2 separate regions of the Homo sapiens genome follow, and region 1 is linked to region 2. The links are contacts of gene promoters, found by promoter capture Hi-C in blood cells and fetal thymus (Javierre and others, 2016). All regions are on one chromosome and are shown on one strand. The core of a region is centred on a gene start or on the middle of the fragment in contact, and the rest is flanking DNA. Distances in the headings are between cores, read along the strand shown.

The links. Contacts are between HindIII fragments. The CHiCAGO score rates a contact against its expected background, and 5 or more counts as called.
Region 1: a fragment that was not itself captured here is called in contact with the fragment with the promoter of OR51E1 in region 2 in 3 of 17 cell types (naive B cells, erythroblasts and megakaryocytes); the score reaches 5.8 in naive B cells.

What each region holds. Positions count from the first base shown.
Region 1 is chr11:4,981,770-4,987,432 of GRCh38, reverse strand. The region is part of intron 2 of MMP26 (matrix metallopeptidase 26); the gene reads right to left. Among named protein-coding and RNA genes, the nearest start is that of OR51L1, 10 kb to the left of the region's middle. The HindIII fragment of the contact is 6,427 bases long and covers 1-4,463 here.
Region 2 is chr11:4,642,618-4,649,154 of GRCh38, reverse strand. It overlaps OR51E1 (olfactory receptor family 51 subfamily E member 1), which reads right to left and starts at 5,173. Exons shown (of 2, transcript NM_152430.4): 1 at 5,125-5,173. OR51D1 (olfactory receptor family 51 subfamily D member 1) reads right to left here. Exons shown (of 2, transcript NM_001004751.3): 2 at 6,095-6,537. The HindIII fragment of the contact is 7,717 bases long and covers 3,754-6,537 here.

The DNA of each region.
Region 1 (5,663 bases), core at 1-2,500, 340 kb before region 2:
ACAAAAAACAAAAAACAAAAAAAAACCACAAAAAACAAAACAAAAAAAATCTCCAAGACCTATGTAAAAGAGATCTAGAAAAACACAGAAAGAGGTAGTTAATAGCTATATGTTGAAGAAAACAAAGCATTGATAATAAGTTGACACGCACACGTCTATAGATGTACATGTTTATGTATATGTATAGATACATATACATATATATCTCACAGCAAAATATTTCAGCTATTACCTTAGAAATCACACGACTCGGCTGGGTGCAGTGGCTCACACCTGTAATCCCAGCACTTTGGGAGGCTGAGGAGGATGGATCACCTGAGGTCAGGAGTTTGAGACCAGCCTGACCAACGTGGTGAAACTCCATGTCTACTAAAAATACAAAAAAGTAGCCGAGCATGTGGCACGTGCACTCCAGCCTGGGCAACAAGAGCGAAACTCCATCTAAGAAAGAAAGAAAGAGAGAGAGAGAGAGGGAGAGAGAGAGAGAGAGAGAGAGAGAGGGAGAGAGAGAGAGAGAGAGAGAGAGAAAGGAAGGAAGGAAGGAAGTCACAGAACTCTGGAAATGAGTCCTAACTCTGCTACTTAAAAGCTGTTCAACTAGGCCAGGCGCAGTGGCTCACTCCTGTAATCCCTGCACTTTGGGAGGCTGAGGTGGGCGGATCACCTGAGGTCAGGAGTTCAAGACCAGCCCGGCCAACATAGTGAAACCCCGTCTCTACTAAAAATACAAAAAAATTAGCCCAGCATGGTGACAGGCCCCTGTAATCCCAGCTACTTGGGAGGCTGAGGCAGGAGAATCACTTGAACCCAGAAGGCGGAGGTTGCAGTGAGCCGAGATCATGCCACTGCACTCCAGCCTGGGAAACAGAGTGAGATTCTGTCTCAAAAAAAAAAAAAAAAAAAAAAAAAAAAAAAAAAAAATCGACTGGGCATGGTGGTGCTCACTTGTCCCAGCTACTCAGGAGGCTGAGGTGGGAGGATCATTTGAGCCTGGGAGGTCTTGGCTGTAGTGATCCATGATCATGCCACTGCATTCTAGCCTTGACAACAGAGTGAGATCCTATCTCCAAGAAAAAATAAAAAAATAAAAATAAAAGAATTAAAATGGAAGATAATGAAAGAATTTGTTAAAAATACACAATTATTGAGGGCTTATTATAAGGCAATTCTGTGTTTTAAACCTTTGGTATAGATTAAAATATAGTATAAAAATTTTATAGGTTAAAAAAAATGAGACTCAAAGAGGTGAAAGAACATGCCAAAGTCACACTATTAATGAATAGAGAAAATTCGCTTCAAATCTATTAACGAAATACTTCATCAACAGGATTAAACAACATGATATATATGTGGAGGGAGGTCAACAGATAGATGAGAGATAGATAGATGGTTACTACTCAACAGCAGCAGGCAACAGAATAGACAACATTAAAAACATGTTGAATTAAAGACATGGGAAACCAAATGGTAATCCTATTTGAGGCTCAAGAACAAGGAAAGCTAATTTTGCAGAAAGCAATGAGTATAGTGGTTGCCTCTGTCATGGAGGGGATTGTTGGTAAAGGAGCACAATAGAAATTTATCCAGGAATGAAATGTCTATTTCTTGACTGATATCTGGGTAATACAAATATATTCACTTTTTGAAACTCACTAAGCTGTACACTTAAGATTCATATATCATACCATTAAACCTCTACAAAAATAAATACAATTTCAATGAATTAAGAAAATAAAAATATAGATTAATAAGGTACCAAAAGCGGCACCCATTTCACCATGAGGAATATAGAACTGTAATATAAATGGTAATGTATGTGGTCAAATGAGCATATAAATAATCATTTTGTGGATGATATTGTAATGCGAGTGCTATATCCCAGTTAATGTTCTAAAAGAAGAACGTTATGTGCTAAAGACATGGGTAAATAATGGAATGTCAACCAGAGGAATTAATAAAATAAGATATATGTGATATACTTGGAAAAGAGAATATGGTTAATCTGAAAAAGGCAAGATGGATTTAAGACTGCCTATGGAAACAATGATGTTTGTTGTTAGACAAATATGGTATAGAGATTGTTATTCCTGATAACCTCTATCAACTTTGTAAATTATGAGTTTGTTCACTAAAATCTCATGGTGATATAGACCTTATTATATTCTCATTTCAAAGATTAATAAACTAGGGTTTGGGGAATATAAAACTCTTTCCATGGAAATGATAAAATATTGATATTTACATCTATATCTGACTAAGTTTTAAGTCAGATTATGTATTAAATGAGGCATGCTGCTTATCACTGCTGGCAGATCTCCATCAATAATATCATCGACATATCTTTGATGTTTCTATGGCCTGAATACATTCAAAAACCTAAGCTCAGTGGAATCACAATGAAAGAAACAAGGTGAAAATGACTAAAACTTATTCAAAATCTATAGTAGTTTTGAAAGAAGCAAAAATAAAAAAAAATCCTCTAAGTCTCTCACACTTTCTCCGGTGTTCTGAACATAGACTTCTCTAGGATGGTTAAAAATCAGGTTAAATCTCTCTATCCCATTGAAAGAAGGTGACCAGAGAACCCCCATAGAGCATGGTTCCTCAATCACTCTGATGTATTCTTGAAATTCTGTTGCAGAAATGTTAATAAATGAAACCCTCCTGAAATTTCAAAATATTCTGTTGTACACAATAACTATACACAATTTATATTTGTCAATTGACAAATTTACTAACAAATTGAAAAAAATGAAATATAAAGAAGCCCTCATATTTTCCAGGCCCATAAATGACACTGTAGGCTCATTAATGACAGCGACGTCAAGTTGCATTAATATCTGTAGCACAGACTTTGGAACTTGGAAGGAACCCATTATTCATTAAATTAATAAAAGTGTTCAGTAAAAAAAATCTCATAGCTGGTAATGAAATCAGAAGTGAGTGAATACTTAACAAACTATTGATACATACGAGCATATAATTCAGATCGCTCAACACAGGACAAGTGATCATTATAACAACTTATTGAGCGCATACGCTGTGCCAAGAATGCACTTTCTTCATCAACACAACTACCTGTGAAGTAGGTGTTTTATAGTATTCATCTTATAGTTAAGGAAATGAGGCTTTGAGGTCATTTAATTGTCATTTTGGGGGGTCACAATGCTCAAAGTTATGTATAGAAGTTATAAATAAAGAGTATTTTATTCTGAAGGCAGAATCTTTGATCACTGGCCTGGATTGCCACTTTTGATGAGACTGCCCCGTCTTTCATCTTGACACGCACCTCTCTAATGCTGCTCCTGGAACTCCCAGTATGCCCCATGCAATCCGATAGGGCCGGCACAGATGAGCAGCCATCTGTAAGCCTGACCCAGCACTCAAATACATGAGTGCTGACTGCTGAGAGCCAGCTTAACTAAGAAAGCAAATGAGTGACTTATTAACGATTCAGCTGCTGATAAGGGAAGTAATGTGTTGAAAGCACAACAGTGTTTCTCAAAATGTAATATGCATAGAATCGCCTGTGGATATTAATAAAAATGCAGATTCTAATTCAACAGGTCTTGAATAAGCCTAATATTCTAAATTTCTAACAAGATCCTAGGTGATGCCAATGCTGCTGATCCAAAATCAAACTTTTTAAGTAGTTATGAGGCAGAAGATATTGGCAATGTAAGGAACAAAAGACCTGTGAATTTAACCAGAAAGTTTTAATAATGGATACCAGATTTTATATATTATTTTTAAAATCAGAACTATGGAAACAGGCCCCTATCTCTCCTCTCACCCCCATCTATGCTTTCATCTTTCTCATTATGGCTATAGTATTTGATCTGCTGGGTATAAACATCTGGCCTGTGCCTAGGACCTCTCCTAGCAGATTTTGAATTGTTTCCCATCTCCTTCTGGAAGAAATGAGAAAACGTAATTTTGAAGATATCAGACTGCACGGCCACTTTTTCTGTTACTCAGGTAAAGAGTGGGTGCAGGGAGAGTTTGTGGGGCATTGGAAAATTGATGCCATTGTCATGACACTGGCAGCTCTTCTGGAGAAGATTCAATATCTAATTCATTTTGACAGAGAACAAATGCTTTCACCGCAATACCATAGTTTGAGCTAATGCTAAGAGAAGGATTACCAATAGAGAGCATAGAGGGTAATGAGATAAGAACCATGGGGCTGGGCAGGCTGCAAGGAGCCATCGATGCCCCAGTACAGCACAGAACCACACAGTCATTTAGTGATCATCATAGAAAGTGTATATTTTCTCTCCTGAAACTATTTTGCATTTGCAATTTATTTATTCAACTGAGAGAATGGCATATTACTGGTGTGCAAAGGCTATTAAGACACAAAGCCTGCTTTAAGTTAGTTTACCGTCTCATAGAATGGTCTATTAAATAAACATAGAATTGTGAGACAGTAATAAGCCTCAGAATAAAAACCTATACAAGCTTTGCTAGTGGCTAATTGGAGTGAGATCTTAACCCACATGGATTTCTATGAGGAGGTAAATAGAGGAGGTGATGTAACCTGGACCTTACACATTTCAACAATGTTGTAGGAACGCTGGGAAAAAGCCTAGAACCTCAGGTCATTTCTTTTGATTAGAGTATAGGTTTTGCCTGAGCAAACCTCTTTCATACAGATAAGAACAGAGAGTGAAGTAAGAAATGGATCCCGTAGGGATTTAAAAGTCATGTAAATATTTTATACCCTTTACCTCTTGTAAATATGTATTTATACTGGTGTTTATTCAGATAAGTATACTACTTATCAAAATAGTAATTATAAGAGTAACCAACTTTTACTGATTGTTAAGTGCTATTTGTATGAATTATGTCATTTAATTACATGAACAACTTTTATTTTACAAATTAGGGAATTAAGACTCAGGGAGTTGAGTAATTTGTCGAAATTTAGAGACTTTACAATTGCCAGAGCCTGCAATTTTTAACTTTCATACAGGCAGACGTAAACATGTATAGTCATGTGCCACATAACAGTGTTATTCAATAATGGACCACATTAGCATGGTGCTCCCATAAGATTGTAATGAAGCTGGAAATTCCTATCATGTAGTGACATTGTAGCTGTCGTAACGTCATAACACATTGCATTTCTGATAATGCTGATATAAAGAAACTGACTTCACCACCAATCCTACAGAAGTATAGCACATACAATTATATACAGTATATAATTCCTGATAAAGATAATAAACAACTGTTATTGGTGTATGTATTTACTACACTAAAATTTTATCATTCAGAGTGTACTCAATATATATGTATATGTTTATATGTGTATGTATATTGTATATATGTATGTATGTATATTGTGTGTATATATATATATACATACATACATATATATGTAAAGTTAACTGCAAAACAACTTCAGGCAGGTCAGTCAGGAGGTATTTCAGAAGAAGGAATTGTTGTTATAGGAGATGACAACTCCATGCACCCTGAAGACCTTCCAGTGGGACAAGATATGGAGGTGTAAGACAATGATATTGATGATCCTGAGCCTGTGTAGGCCTAGGCAATGTAGTGTTTATGTATTAGTTTCTAACAAAAAGTTTAAAAAAGAAAAAAAAGAAAAAAACTTAAAAGTATAAAAAGCTTATAGAATAAGGATATAAAGAAAAAAT
Region 2 (6,537 bases), core at 3,924-6,423:
AGCTCCTGAACACCAGGAACCTTATTATATTTATTAATTGTTTAGTTAATGTTTTGGAAGATGAAAATGAGTTTTATCAACAGGAGAGTCTCTTAGTATACATCTAGTGAGGGTAACACAGCCAAGGGCATAGTTAAGACTGCCTGTTATCTGTACTAGAGAGACTTTTGAGAAGGATGAGATGATGTTTGGAAGGTCAGTGCAGAGTAATTTTAATTTTGTAAAAATAATCTTTAGGGTCAAACAGAAAAGTCCTTTCTTACCAAAGGAGCTGGAGGGCCAGAGAAATATGTATTAAAAAAAACAGAGCAGCTGCAAGGTCTTGGTCCTAATAAATGCAAAGTGGACATGCAGCACAATTTGTGCCTAAGAGCAGGATAGACCTAAGATCCCTCACCTGGAAACACTGGCAAGAAGGTTCTGGTACTCCAGAGGGTCAGATATCCATGCTATCCATCAGTTTTACATAAACAGATATGGCAGAGCAGGTTGATACTCAGGATTTAAAAAATGTGCTGTCTTAGGAAACACACTGGGAAAGAACTCTGGCTGGGCATATGCAACACTATTGCCTCTGAAGGTAGAGTGATGTGGTGAGCAGAATCCTGGGGCTTAGAACACAAGTCTTGGCGCTAAATAAATGCAGTGAATAATAATAACTGCATAGTGCTGCTGTGAAATTGTATGAGATAAGGCATGTCTAAAGAAATTGTAAAAACCAAATCGGAGTACACATAGTGCATTGTTTTCCACAAAAATGGGCAACAAGGTCTCTGAAAATGTATGAAATTTCATATACTTTTCAATTCCCCAAATTTGTCACCTTAATCACCACTTGGCCTGTATGTACACACTCATACACACACATATTTACTAGCAGTCAATTTCTCACAATAGCAAGACTGGGCACTGATACAAAGATACCAGAAATCAACAAAAGGAAGATTTAGCTGGCCTGGGAAGGAGGTGCCTAGGCAGTATAAAATGGGCAGCTATCGCTGGGGCTAAAATATCAGCCTGGACCCCAGAAGACTACAGCAGGAGAGAAATGAATGGATGGAGAAGGAGCCAGCCAGAGAGCTCAAGTGCCACCGTTCAGACTGGCCAGCCCTGAAGCGTCCCAATGTTCAACAGTCCCTCCACGAGACAGGCAGAGTGACCAGATGACTTCCAGGTGGCCTTCCAGCTTGAGCAGCTGTTAGTAATTAAAACTCAGTGAGATGGTTTTGAGCTCTGGAGGAACTTGGAACTAAATTATTTTGAAAATAAGGCACAATCAAGAAAAAATAAACTAACAAAGCATTTTTTTTTTAGAAAGCTCACACACTGCTCTAATCCCCAAGGAATAGCCCTGTGCTGAGATTTTCTGTGAATAAGTTGAACTATCTTAGCAAGTTCCAGGAATGTTTCTTCAGGAACTATGAAGGACATCTTAACCTTTTCTCAGGAATAGGGGAACAGGAGCTCCCAGCTGTAAAGACTGGAAATCCACGTGGAGGCCTTCAGTCCTCTCCCTTCCTTCCCCCGGGCTTCAGAACTCTGTCTCCTAATGCCAGCCCAGCCCCCCTCACCAGCCCATCCTCACATTCTTCCCTAGAACTCCTTCTCATAGACCCGTGAAAAAGCAGTCAGAGAGATAAACCAGACAGCAGGAGAGAAATGAAGGGATGGAGAGGAAGCCAGCCAGAGGGCCCAAGTGCCACCCTTCAGACTGGCCAGCCCTGAAGCATCCCAATGTTCCATAGTCCCTCCACAAGACAGGCAGAGGGACAGAAGACTTCCAGATGGCCTTCCAGCTTGAGCAGCTGTTAGTAATTAGAACTTAGTGAGATGGTACTCCAAAGGTGTACCATTAGCCTATTAGCCCTATCTCTTCTGACCCAAGAGAACAATGAGGTCACCTTTAACCCTGATTTTGTTGTTTTTATAATATGAACATAGATTATTGAGCACCTACAAAATGACAGAAACTATACAGTGCCATCTGTATAAATATTATCTCTAATCTGGGAACAGCTCTGCAGAAGGTGAGGGTGTTTAATTCAATCTGCTGGGAGGGAAAGTTTAAGGCAGAGAAACCGATTTAACCTAGAACTTCAGGCAAAGGGGCCAAAGTCATCAACATCCCTTCTTGCTGCACCATGGATCCTCTCTATATTATGGGTGAATACTATGGATCCTTTCTATATTATGGGTGAGAAAACTGAGGCTCCAAGACATTAAATAACATAACCAAAGTTTAACAGGTGACTGGTAATGCAGAAACTTAACCTAGATAGTCTCATACCAAGGCCTATACACTTTCCCTCATTCTAGGCTGCCTTTAATTTTGCTGCACCTTCTGAAAGCTAATAAAATCCACCCAAAAGGCAAGGTATAAGAAGGGCTTGGTAAGTAGCACAGCTGCCCTGGGTATACTCTTAGAAGGGAAACCAAGAGGGCTGCAAAGAAGACTCTTCTGCACTGGAACTTGGGACACTCACCTCCTCTTTCAGCCCTAACTCCAAAGGCTGTGAGGTGGGTAGGCCCCACAATGGAGATTAAAAGGCTTGTCCTCTACCACGTATTTCCTTATTATCTAATTAGAGCCTCTCATCCACCTGTCAAGCAGATATCATTAATCCCATTTGACAGATAAGGATGTTGAGGGTTAGTTAGAGCCCTTAGTGCTAAATCCATTGCTTTACAGTAGGCCAAGCTACTGCCCTACCCCTCCCCATGTCTCCTTAAGAAGGGACTTCGCTTTGTAAGCACTATTTCAATATTAATCTCTCAGGAATCCAACACTGATGACCCATGAGTCCAGGGGCCCCTCTCGGACTCAGGACACATGACCAGCTCTCCCCACTTAGGTTCAGTGTGGAAGGAGAACCAGGAGGAGATTCATTGTCAGTGTCACTATCTGGGCTAAACACACAGAATGTTTCATGCCCAGAGCAATGGAGTGAGGGCCTCTGGCGCTGCTGTCAGCCTCTGGGAATATTTAGAAAAGAATGTCCCTGGAGAGAAGCCCAGACATACCTGGGAGCCTCTGGCTCCTCATCCCAGGCACAGAGAGGGAAGGCAGACCTCAGGGGCAATGCTGTGGCTGGCAAGGACTGGAGGAGCTTGTCACTTGATTCTTAAATAGAGTCCCTTCCCTAACACTTAGTGAGGGTAGTAGCCCCAGCATGACTTCCACTCAAATTATCTGCATCCACTGTGCCCCACACCTTGCTTGTATTTAATAAAGCAGATGAACCCTTGCAAGGTGTTGGTCACTCTTCTTAAAATGGCCAAGATGAAAATGGAAAGATGAGAGAGAGCAACTTCTAACTCCCAAAAAGCCAAGTGAGCCCTCACCCCACCCTGGTCACTCAAGTCAGCCTGACCACCTAAAATCACCCCTAGGCAGAGTTCCTAGGTTTCAGGTCTCTGCTCCTCCACTTCCTGAGTAGGACCAGATAAGTGTTCTAAAGATCTGCAAAGCTGCACCTAGTTACCAGTTCCCTGTAGAGCTATTCTGGCTGCAAGCAAATGTAAGGCAAGGGAAATGCCCAAAGTGGGATTTTGATCAGTGTACTCATTTTTTCAATAATCATTGACGGACTTCTGTGCCAGACTCCACTGAGTACCAGAGATATCGTTCCAGCCTTCCAAGGATGGGGAGAAATTGAGACAAATATGCAGCCATCACAGCACATTATGATAAATTCTGGGACAAGGGGAAGCAAAAGGGCCTCAGAAGCAAAGACAACAATAGCTCAGCAAGCTTTTTAGGTTCCAAGGGCTTCCCTGAGGAGGTGACATTTAAGCCATGGCAGTGGCGGGACCTGCTGCAGGCAGGTAATGGGGCAGTGACACAGGCAGTTAATGGGGTGGGGCACAGCAGCATTCGGTTAGACAACAAAAACATATTGAGTGTCAAAAACTGGAGATGAAACAGTAGATAAATCAGACAAGATGATGGCTTTTATGGAGCTCATATAACACGAGGCCAATAATGAGAAGTAAACAAATAAAATTTCAGTTGAAGATAAGGGCACGAAAGAAAGAGTGATAGGACAGAGGAAGATGGGTGCAGGACACTCATACTGGAGACAGGGGTCAGAAAAAGCCTCTCTTAAGGATGTGACATGTGATGAGAAAACACCAGCCATTCTAAGATCCAGGGAAAGTGCATTCCAACTGTGGGAGACAGCAAGAGAAAAGCGTCCCCCAGCAAGAATGATATTGGGGGATTCATGGAACAAAAGGAAGGTCAAGGTGGCCAGAGCATCAAGAGCACAACAGAGTTTGAGAAGATGAGGCGGGAGGAAGGCAAGGACCTCATCAGGTAACAGGGTCTTGCAGGGTATGGCAAGGAGCTTTGGTTTAATTCTGAGTGACTTGGGGGAATTTCAGCAACAGAACTTATCTAGTTTGTTTTTAAAAATACATCCTGGCTAATACAAAGAGCCAGAGAGAAAGAGAACAGACCTTGTTTGGAAAGCTGAAAGTGACTTAGTGTAGCTAGGGTAAAGAGTACAAGGCAAGGGGTGTTGCCGTGTGGACACTAATCTACTTTTTAAATGGGCTGAAGACTGAATCCTGATCCTAGACACAGACCAAGCTGAGATCGGAGCCCCAGGAAGATTACTAAGTCCCAGTCTCAGCCACAGCCTGACTCCTGATGTACAGCATACAGTGAAACCAACCTCACTCAGAGCCCCACTTCCACCCCAGCTGCAGCCTCATCCCCAGTCATAGACTGAGCTTCAACCACGTTCACCCTGTTCACACACCAAACCCCGACCCAACCCCAATGCAGCCCCAGTCTAACCCCAGCCCAGCCTGTCCTCTGTCCTCTGTCCTCATTCACATCAGCCCCTGCCAGCCTCCAGATGGGCATACTAGTAAACTAATCACTGAAAAACTGCTTGAAAACTACCCTTAGGCTACCTCCAGCACCCACATGCTTTCTGTTCAGCACACAAACCTAGAGATCACTAAGGCTGCCTGTCCTTTGAGTCAGGGGCTTCCTACACATCTCCCACTTCTGGTTCTTCACAGCCTGGCTTCTCATGCACTCAGCAAGTCTAACAGGAGACCCCTAGCTGCAAGTAACCCATGCACCTGGACATGCCCCTGGCCTCCTGCACTCACCTCAACCGTATGGAAGGAATGTGTGACCCCCTTTGTCCAGTCTTCCTCCAGAAGAGGTCTGGCAGGCTGCACTGAAATACAGCCTCTCTGTCTCCGCCTACTCCCTTGGACCTCCCTGGTCAGGGTTATTTATTCTCTGCCTCACCCTCTCCCTCCTTCTGCTTCTTCCTGCAGGGTGGGGCAGAATGCTGTCCAAAGGGTACATCAGCAGGTACCCCTCACTAGCCCACTGTGGTTCTGGACTGCTTCTCAGCTTCCGTGCCCTGGGAGGATATGCCTGGGGGTATGGGGAGGAGAGGCAATGGGGAAAGGGATCTCTAGAGTCCTCCCCTGATGGGCTGCTGGGATCCTCATGCCAACTCCCAATGTGAAGGATAGATAGGGAAAGTGAGTAGAAAAAAGCTAGAAGAAACTCATTAGTGTAGTCTTCGTGACGGTCTTTATCCAAGTCTCTTCTCAGGTTTATCAAACTCAAACAGGAGAATGGCAAAGGAAGTTTGCAGAGACACTCCACGGTTAAGTGTCAGCCCATTTCCATCCTGAAGTGTTCTTTCTGTCCTCCCTTCTCTCATTTGGGGGACACTGTTTAGGTCCTTGCTAAGCGTGGAATTCACTGGGTCCATCCTCCTTTTCCCAAAGCCCTAGGGCTACATCTTTTTTTGTCTCCCAGGCTCTGGTCCCTGTGTCTGGATAACTTATAACCAAGGTCCCCAGGGACAGTGCCTCTGCCGTCCACTCTCTGGCCTTGGATTACTGAACTTCTGGCTGAGGACAGAGAACGTGGTTTCTTTAACCCTCCCCACCCCCAACACCAGCCACGTAAGACCAATGACATCTGGTTTCTCCCTTAAGGGCAAAAATAGTCAGAGAACATTTTAGAGAGTTAGAGAACAATTTGAATGTAAAACTAAATACCTCGTATTTTGAAATAAGTAAAAACTACATCTATAAATAGAACAACATGGTTTTTAGTTGGTCTCCCCTTATTTTTTACTGATCAGTTTCACAACTGTGAGTTTTAAATTCAGAACACAGGACACGCTAAATCAAGCTATGTTAAATAGATCATGGCAAATCAGACCATTCTAACTCAGACCACATCAAAATTACTGGTGACAACAGTTTCTGGTGCCTACAGAGCACGCAGCCTGACACTTGCTATCAGAACCCTGGAGCCATCTCTGCTGCCTCCATTAACCTCATTAACTTAGACATGGCAAAGACTTTAAAAAATACCAAAGGGACTTCTACTTCCATCCAATATGGAGTAACAATGAGACATGTGGAAGGACAGTGAGACATGAGACAAGGTGAATAATGAGGTGAATGCTACAGTTTTTTCAGCTTCCTGCCTTAAGGGAGTTTCCATGCGGCAACAGAAGGGAGATTGACTGGCTTCCCCTCCACCCTTGC